Regions from separate parts of the Homo sapiens genome. Here region 1 is linked to region 2. The links are contacts of gene promoters, found by promoter capture Hi-C in human tissues and cell types (Jung and others, 2019). All regions are on one chromosome and are shown on one strand. The core of a region is centred on a gene start or on the middle of the fragment in contact, and the rest is flanking DNA. Distances in the headings are between cores, read along the strand shown.

Evidence for each region. Contacts are between HindIII fragments. The study calls those that stand out against the background at their distance.
Region 1: a fragment that was not itself captured here is called in contact with the fragment with the promoter of SNW1 in region 2 in 1 of the 25 tissues and cell types used here (dorsolateral prefrontal cortex).

What each region holds. Positions count from the first base shown.
Region 1 is chr14:78,584,852-78,589,251 of GRCh38, forward strand. The region is part of intron 4 of NRXN3 (neurexin 3); the gene reads left to right. Among named protein-coding and RNA genes, the nearest start is that of NRXN3-AS2, 120 kb to the right of the region's middle. The HindIII fragment of the contact is 3,510 bases long and covers 402-3,911 here.
Region 2 is chr14:77,758,387-77,763,361 of GRCh38, forward strand. It overlaps SNW1 (SNW domain containing 1), which reads right to left and starts at 2,770. Exons shown (of 14, transcript NM_012245.3): 1 at 2,728-2,770. The coding sequence starts at 2,741. It overlaps SLIRP-OT1 (SLIRP overlapping transcript 1), which reads left to right and starts at 2,382. Exons shown (of 2, transcript NR_161324.1): 1 at 2,382-2,730. RefSeq lists enhancers at 1,960-2,734, 2,642-2,961, 3,509-4,283. The HindIII fragment of the contact is 5,855 bases long and covers 1-4,975 here.

The DNA.
Region 1 (4,400 bases), core at 907-3,406, 830 kb after region 2:
ATTTTCAATTTGCAAGAGTGGTTGCAGAGTTAAACTAGATGATGGTATTATATACTTGTTTTTGGTTTGTCTATTTCTTTATTTTAAAGAATGTTCAATATCTACTCCATAACAGGCATAGCATTAGCTTCAGGATTTCCAGCAGTGAGCCAAACATACAGAGCCCTAGTTCTCATGGGGTTGATTTCCTATTTGAGGAAAAGAGACAAAAAGGAAATATACAAATACATACATTATTAGGTGGTGATAAATGCTATGGAGAAAAATAAGAAGAAATAGGGGAGATAAGGGGGGGGGGTGATTAATTTATGTAGACATTCAGGAAAGGCCTCAATGTTGAAGTAGTATTCAAGCTCATACCTGAGAAAATTAGAGCCTGAGCCAAAAGGCTATCAGGGCAGATGGTCACAGGCAGCCAGTGCAAAGGACCTGAGGTGGGAATGTGCTTGGTGAGTTGGAGGCACAGGAAGGGGCCTGTGTGGCTAGTACAGAGGGAGGAAGGCTGAGAGTAGAGATGATATCTGAGCTTCCAAGGGGCCAGAGAATGGAAGGTTTGGGAGTGAGACGGAGCCATGGACAAATTGAAGCAGAGTGAATATGCTCTGATTTATACTGTTAAAAGTTGATCACTCCTGCGGAGTGTGGATAGAAATTTAGGGACAAGGGAGGGTGGAGGGAGACTAGTTAGGAGACTATTGTCATAATCCAGGTGGCTTGGCCATGAAGTTAGTGGCGGAAGAGGTCTCATTCTGGGCATATCTTGAAGCTATGCTTGATGGGGTTGTTGGTAATTGGGTCTGGGGTATGAGAGGAAGGGAGGGGCCAGGGTGACACCAAGCATGTGATTAAGGCCTGAGCACCTGGACTGATGAGCTGTTGTTTGCTAAGATGGGTAAGGCTGAGAGAGATGCAGTTTTAGGGGAAGGGTTGGATATTAGGGGTTCAGCTTTGGACTTGCATTTCCGTGTCTAGGAGACACTCTAGTAGAGATATGAAATTGGTGATGGTATGAGTAAGGTTGGAGTTTAGACAAAAATCTAGGCTAGAATTATGGATTTGAGAATCATTAGCATACACATGCTATTTAGAGGCTTGAGACTGGATGGAAGCGTAGATAAATTGAGTGTAGCTAGTGGGGGCCAAAGCATTGATTCTCTTCCCAAATGCTAGGGAGCCCTATTACTTGGAGCAGGAATTGTCAGACAGTGACCAGATTTTCATGTCTTTTTGTAAATAAAGTTTAATTGGAACCATTCATCTGCATTTCTTTATCTATTGTCTGTGGCTGTTGTTGAGCTACAACAGGAGAGCTGAGTAGTTGTGACAAAGACTCATGGCCTGCCAAAGGCCAACAAAATCTACCATCTGGCTGTTTAGAGACAGGGTTTTTGTTTTTGTTTTTGTTTTTTTTGACCCTTGATTTAGAGATCAAGGAGATAAGAGGCATCCAGCAAAGGAAGCTGAGAAGGAATAGCCAGAGAGGAAAGAAGAGTGCCAAGAGTTCTGCATTGAAGGAAAGATGGTGCCAGGGTTTGAACACACAGCATTAGAATACGTGAGGCTGGGCAAGTTACTTCCCCATAAGGACGGTAGTAGCACAGGATTGGCATAAAAATTAAAGTAGATGATGCATGCAAAACACTTACAGCTGTGCCTGGTATCCAGTAAGTATTCAGTAAATGCTCTTACAGCATCTACTTCTATTTGCTTAGTCTGTAGTCCTCAGCCAAGGCTCTGTACTGGAGACAAATCAGGATGTTTGAGGATTAGCCCCACCGCCTGATCAGGTAAGCCTATGATCTATGCTCAGGGACCTGAGGAAGAAGGAGGAAGGTGAGCCATGTCCCCCGACCCTGACCGTGTACACCCTGTCCCCCAAGAGGACCTTGAAGAAGAGCCCTTCAGCATCTGCTTTTTACTTCCTATCTTTGACAAACAGTCTTTATGGAAAGCTTTTGAGCAAACGGCAAATCCATCTTTATGAGATTACTAATGTCAACACATTTTGTGTATCAGGATTTTATAGGCTCCTGCGGGCCTGTGCCTGTGACAACATTGGCTGGCAGTGCTCGCCTGAGGAATTATGCAACATGCCCCTGATGCTGGAGAAGGATCTTGATATCCCACTGAGGCCCGGGACATTTTCTCCCAGAAACAGTCTTGAATGAGAAGCTTGAAGAGGGGAGTTAGATTTACTGGGGCTTCTCTAAAGATTCTGTGTCCAAAGCTTGAATAGGGAAAGAAATACTTTGCATCCATGTAGCAGGTTCTGCATTCAGCATACCAGGTTTGCTCCTAGTTAAAGAGTCATGGAGCCCATGGGAGTGTTTGTTCTTTGGGAATGTCATAAAAGAGAATTTGGCCTCTCCCACTTACATGTTCTTGCATTTCTTATTGGTCCTTCTCTTGCAATTATTGCTACTTTCCCTGGTCAACCTCTAGAGCAGTGGCTTTCCAAGTGCCTTCTGTGGACAGGTAGTATCAGCATCATCTAGAAACTTAGAGACGCAAATCCTCGGTGCACCCCCAACCCATGGAATCAACCGTTTTTAATGTGTGACCTTTGGCAGATTAGTTACCCCTCTGAAATCTAGTCTTACCCTATGAAATATGGGAACGTTAATAGCACAGGATTATTGTAAATATTAAATGAGATGATTTTAATGAGTCTTCCAGGCGATTCTGATTATGCTACAGTTCCACTCCTAAAGATTCTTCTAAAAGATTCCCATTTTTGGACAATTAGAAGTTCCTGCTAAGAGAAATTTTCAGATTTTATCCCTCTACACATTCGCAACTATTTTTAATCTGAGCTAATCTGCCAATCATCTTTCCAAAATGAATTAATACTCTCCCATTTTCTTAAAAATTTTGTAGGATATCAACCATTTTAAACTTTTTCTTAAAGACTCAGGGCATCATCATGAATATAATTATTGTTATATTAGATGTTGGGCCTTTGTCATATTTCTATATTTTGTGTTGTTTACCAGTTTTTTTCAGCTTCTTTAAAAATAGAATCTTTAGTTTGCTACCTTCTTCTTCATTGTCTGGATATCAGCTATTTTTTTAATAGCTATATCCAGTATTATCCCCATCACTTTCTAATTTTTTACTTTTAACTTGATTTTGCACAAGGACTGAAATAACCAAGATGATTAATAATGTACTCAAAGCAAGAATAAATCATTAAACATAATAGTAAATAAATGAGAAGAATTTATTGAGAGGAAATAAATGAGAGGGATTTTTTTTGAAAGTATAAGCTTCTGTACCTGAGTTTTGCATCATAAAGTCTGGATTCTTGGGTACCTTACTATTTACTTCTGATCATGTCATAGTTGTCTTGAATAACTGAATAGCTGATGTTTTGAATAAATGAAAAGTTTTTGTAGCATACTCACCACTCAATCATTCTCCTGAATGTTCCACCCTCATCATGTTATACCTTTCTATCCTTTGCATATATTGTTGACATATACATTTTCCTAGGTGATACAGTTTGTAACTGATATCATCCAATCACAAGTAAATTACTGCTCTGTGGAATAAAAGGTAATAACTAAATGGGACATGTCTCCTCTTTCACTCCCTTTTTGCTGTTGTTCCACTTCTCCTGGGCTCCTGATGAAGTCTAGGGGAGAGTATACAGGGCTGAGATGTGAACAACCCTAGGATCTAGGCTTGGCTCTGCCACTAAGTGACTATGTAGAACTAGGCAAATCTCTTGGCCTCTCTGGGCCATGAGATGCAACACTATAAATCAGTACGATAATACTCGCTTCTCCTTCCTTATAGCAGTAGAGCAAGAATCCAAATAAATAGTACAAGTGAGAACTCAACACAATCTACATCTGTGAAGCATCATTCTTAAGGTATATCCAGGGCATTTGGCTCCACGTAGACCTAGAGGTTGCTTTCTCAGTCCCTTGTCCGCCCCATATCCAGCTGCCTTGGCTCACAGAGTTTGAGACTGTGCTGTATTTTCTGTCATGCTTCAGAGTGTATCAAATCAACACAAATATAAAATAAAGCCATAAAGAGAAGGCTGATATTCACCATAGAAAATGTTGGAGGGAAAGACAAAAACACTCAACGACAACTTCACAAACAACCCTTATTATGGCTGTGGAAGACACAATAGTATGTGTAATGTGGTGTTTGGGCTGTATTTGCTGCTTGGGAATCTGGTGCATTCTGAGATGGAGGGAATGCCAAGTGTTTAGACAACATGCTGCTTGGCGCCTGCAGGTTCCTGGAAAGGACTGGGGTCTCCAGATCTAGGCTGCCAGCCAGGAGTCTCAGGCAGAGACATGCATTCTACCGTTTAAGGCCTTTCTAGACTTCAGCAGTGAGCAGATACAGGAGCCCTCAAGAAGCTCTGCAAAAGCCTACCACCA
Region 2 (4,975 bases), core at 1,520-4,019:
TCTTTTCTTTTTTGATTGCTCCTTGCTGGGCAGGGCTATCCCACAGGCAGTATGCCTAGAGTAGCCCCAGATCTTTCAACAGCTTGCATCTCAGCACTCTTGTCTCTGCTCAGTTACCTCTCTCTAGAGCTGTTTTCTGACCACCTTACCCAAAATAGCCACTTCACCCCAAACTCTGAGTCACTCTCTAACCCGGTCTTTATTTTATTCCTAGCATGTATTACGTGAAATTGCATTATGATTTTACTCACTCTGTCCCATTAGAATGTAAGCTAATTAGAATTCTGTCCCACTAGAATTCCAATTCTGTCCCATTAGAGTGTAAGCTCCATGTGGATAGAGTATAAAATTAAAACAAACTCAGTTTCTCCTATTATTTCACTCAACAATCAACAACACACAACACTTCTGATACCAGATGTGTGATGGTTTTTCCCCACATATCAAGCAAGCTATCAACTGTGTCTACTGGACACCAGTCAAGTGTCCTCTAATTCAATTCAATTTTGATGTTATCTACCTGGAGATACTGTCAGATGTTACAGGTTGAAGGCTCAGTCCCACAAGACTGCCCTTACTTCAGATGCCAACAGTAGGTCCAAGGCCACTGGCCAACTAACTACAAACCAGGGTTCCCATGACCTCATCTTCAGGTTCAACTAATTTGCTAGGGCAGCTCACAGAACTCAGGGAAATGTGTTTACTGATTTAAAGGATATTACAAAGAATACTGAGGAACACCAGATGGTAGGTATGGAAAGCTCTGGAGTCCTCAAGACTGGCCATTTAAAGATCGCATTCTGCCACTGCAATTTTAAGCACGCAATACCCATGACAGGCCAGATGATGTGGTGGCTCACGCCAGTAATGCCAGCACTGTGGGAGGCTGAGATGGGTAGATCAGATCAGTTAAGCCCAGTTCAAGACCAGGCTGGGCAACATGGCAAAACCCCATCTCTACTAAAAAAAACAAAAATTAACTGGGCATCATGGCAAGCGTCTAGAGTCCCAGCTACTCTAGGGCGCTGAGGCAGGAGGATCACCTGAGCCTTGGGAGGTTGAGGCTGCAGTGGGCTGTGATTGGGCCACTGCACTCCAGCCTGGGCAAGAGTGAGACCCTATATCAAAAAATAAAATAAATAAAAAATACCCATGACATCTCTAGAAATTTTTCCTGTGTGTCCATTTCAAATTCCACCTTTTCCACAAAGTCTCCCCTCATAACTTTACTAGTCTATGACACAGTGTCTCACACCTGGGGAGCACTCAAATGTTTGCTGCCTGTAACATTTACTAAACAAACTCTTGGCTGGGCATGGTAGCTCATGCCTGCAATCCCAGCACTTTGGGAGGCCTAGGTGAGAAGATTGATGGAGGCCAAGAGTTGGAGACCACTCTGGCCAACGCAGTAACACCCTATTTCTAGTTTTTTTTTAAAAAAATTTCAGATGCCGGGCATGGTGGCTCATGCCTGTAATCCTAGCACTTTCGGAGGCCGAGACAGGAGGACTGCTTGAGGCCAAGAATTCAAGACCAACCTGGCCAACACAGCGAGACCGCATCTCAAAAAATAAAGTTAAAAAAAAAAGCAAAAAAATTTTAGAAACGAGGGTGGGGAGAAAACTCTCCAGCCCACATAACTTATTCCATTCAATTCTTTTTGCACTAAGGTTAGTATTACACAAATGCACATTTTGTGTTCTGTAATTGTTTTATGTCTGTATACCTTGCACCCCTATCTTCCCTGTTGCCAAAGACAGATTTTCTTCTGTGTACACAACCCCCAGGACAGAGCAAGGCACCAACAGTAATTCCCAAAATAATTTTTTGATTAAAACTTTTGGAGTCATACTGTCATCAGCCAGAAAAAAAAACATGCGTGAGGAGAATGAAGGGTGTTAAAAGAGCTCAAGCTGATGTCCTGAAAGGATTACTTTATCTATAACCTTCCTGAACACTAGCCTTTTCCTGTTGAGTTCGCATGGAAAGTTTTTCCACTTAAAATGGGGCAGCAAGGCTGGGAACTAGTAGGAGTAGCGTAACTTCTCGGACTCTCCCACTGAAAAGCATCTTTTTCTTAAAGGCGGAGAGCACTTTACAGACGGTTACTAAGGTAACCGGAAACAGCAAAACTGAGGTGGTTCTATCTACGGAAGAAATTCTAAGCTCCAAAGTTAAAATGCGGAGCAGTGGCGCATATCAGCAGACGGCGGTCACTACTGTGGCTCATTTAAATCTGTGTTCAGCTCCGGGCCTCTTTTTTCAGGAATCCTTGTTTCGGGACACCCAGTGGACAGCGAAAGGAGAGAGACCACCACAGGCAAACGGCCGGAAAGCCGCGCAGTCGCAGCCCGCGCGCTTCACTCCGCCCAAATAAGCCACTACCGTCACCAACCCCATCTCGTTCGCCCGAGCCGCGGACCTGAGGGAGCGCTGTCCGCTCCCCGCAAGATGCTCACGCGAAAAACCCACTCTTCAGTGTCTGAGACCACTCCGCAGCTTTCGGCCTCGGTGAGCGGGTGAACTAAACCCGGGAAACCGCTGAAAGACCCCAGCTTCGACTAGGCCTAGTCGTAGCGGCGGCCAGCGGGAGGGCGTAGCCGTAGTCTTGGCCCACGTCATTCTGTGCCCCGGGTCAGGTCACCGCCCGGAGGGTATGGGAAGAGAAATGAAGAAGACTGGTACTCCCAGACCCTTCCGTATCGAGGACCCCAATCAACAACCCACCTGGTGAGCGCCATCTTCTTCCGCTTCTTCCAGCGCGAGCGACAGCACCGCTGGGCGGGTCTTTCCAGATGATGAGGAGCGGAAAGGAAGGAGTGCGCGATGCGCAGGCGCTCTGGCCGAAAAGGCCTTCTGGGATTTGTAGTTCTTTGAACAGGAGTACCGTTTGTATTCTGACCAGACCAAGCGGTTATCAAGGAATAATCTCTTCAGCTAGCAACAAATGCATAACTCGATCGCTTATATGCGACATGATAGGGCGTTCCCTAGGCAAAATATCAAAGATACAGGGAGATGCCTTTTAGGCCGCTTTATTACGTTCCTTACTCAGTCCCGTTCCCCGAGAAGGGGTACAAAATACAAAAGCTTCCCGGGGACAGCTACTTTAAGTAAGAGTGATAGGGCGTTTAAAACGACAGGTAATAATGAGACTAGCTAATGGAGAGTCCTTGGACTCTCTGAAAACATTCACACTCAAAACTTTTCTTTAAACCATATCCTCTCACCCGCCAAAACACTCTCTTGGGGAGATATTTCGTAATCCTTGGTAATTTACCGAGTGTCTGGGTTCTCTGCCCAGGGTATGACAAGGCTGAAATCTCATAGGAGGCTCTGGAGAAAAATCCATCTCCTAACTCATTCTTGTTGGCAAAAATCAGTTCCTGGCGGTTGTGGGATCGAGTTCCCTGTTTTGTTTTGTGCTGTTAGTGGTGGCCACCCTCAGCTCCTAGGGGTCACTCTCGAGTCCTTCCCACATGAGCCCTATTTATTGGTAGTTCACAACATGGATATTTGCTTTCTGAGGCACATCTTTCTGACTCCTCTTCTGCCACTGTTGGAGAAAAATGCCCTGCTTTTAAAGGGCTCATGTGATTAGATCAGGAGCACCTGGATAATCTCCCTATTTTAAGATCAACTCTTGGCCGGGCGCAGTAGCTCACACTTGTAATCCTAGCACTTTGGGAGGTCGGGGCGGGCGGATTGCCTGAGCTCAGGAGTTCGACAAAGCCTGGGCAACATGGTGAAACCCTGTCTCTACTAAAAATACAAAAATTAGCTGGGCGTTGTGGCGCGCTCCTGTAGTCCTAGCTACTGGGGAGGCTGAGGCAGGAGAATCGTGTGAATCAGGAGACGGAGGTTGCAGTGAGCCAAGATCACGCCACTGCACTCCAGCCTGGCGACAGAGTGAGACTGCGTCTCAAAAAATAAAAATAAATAAATAAATAAATAAATAAATAATATAAAAGAATAGCTGGGTGTGGTGATGTGCTCTTGTTTTCTCAGCTACTTGGGAGGCTGAGGTACAAGAATCGCTTGAACCCAGGAGGTGGAGGTTGCAGTGAGCCGAGATTGCACCATTGCACTCCAGCGTGGGTGACAAAGTAAAATTCTGTCTCAAAAAAAAAAAAAAAATCAACTCTGCCACACCGCATAACAGAATCAGAATCTTCATAGTCATGGCCCCAGGGGTTATGTAGGTCAGGTACTGTGGGGGTTGGGTGAGGAGGAGATCTTGGGGGATATCCTAGAATTCTGCCTGCCACAGCATGTAAACCAAAAAAACAAAAAGAAAAAATCTTTTGGTAAATACAGGATTGTTAATCACATTGTGTAATATAACCTGCATGGCCTGGGAGCCCGAAGATTAGAGTTTAAGATGTAGCTTTGGCTGGGTGTGGTGGCTTGTGCCTTTAATCCCAGCACTTTGGGAGGCTGAGGCGGGCAGATCACCTGAGGTCGGGAGTTTGAGACCAGCCTGACCAACATGGAGAAACTGCGTCTCTACTGAAAATACAAAATTAGCCGGGCGTGGTGGTGCTTGCCTGTAATCCCAGCTACTCGGGAGGCCGAGGCAGGAGAATCGCTTGAACTCGGGAGGCGGAAGTTGTGGTGAGCCGAGATCGTGCGTCGTTGCACTCTAGCCTGAGCAACAAGAGTGAAACTGTCTCAGAAAAAAAAAAAAAAAAAAAAAAGATGTAGCTTCAGCACCAATAAATTCTTATAGGGCAAGTCATTTAATTTATTTGGGCCCCAGTTTTATTGAACTTAAAATGCTGATCATGTTATCTGCTTTACCTATATTTATATAAATGTAAAATAATTATATACAATACAGCAGAGTATGAGCCTTAAATGAGGTAATGTAGGTGGATATGTTTTTACTTAACTCTTAAGTACTATGTAAATATGTTAGTTATTACAGTTAATATTTTGGTTGACAGTGATCTACTTCAACCTCTGCTCCAGGAAT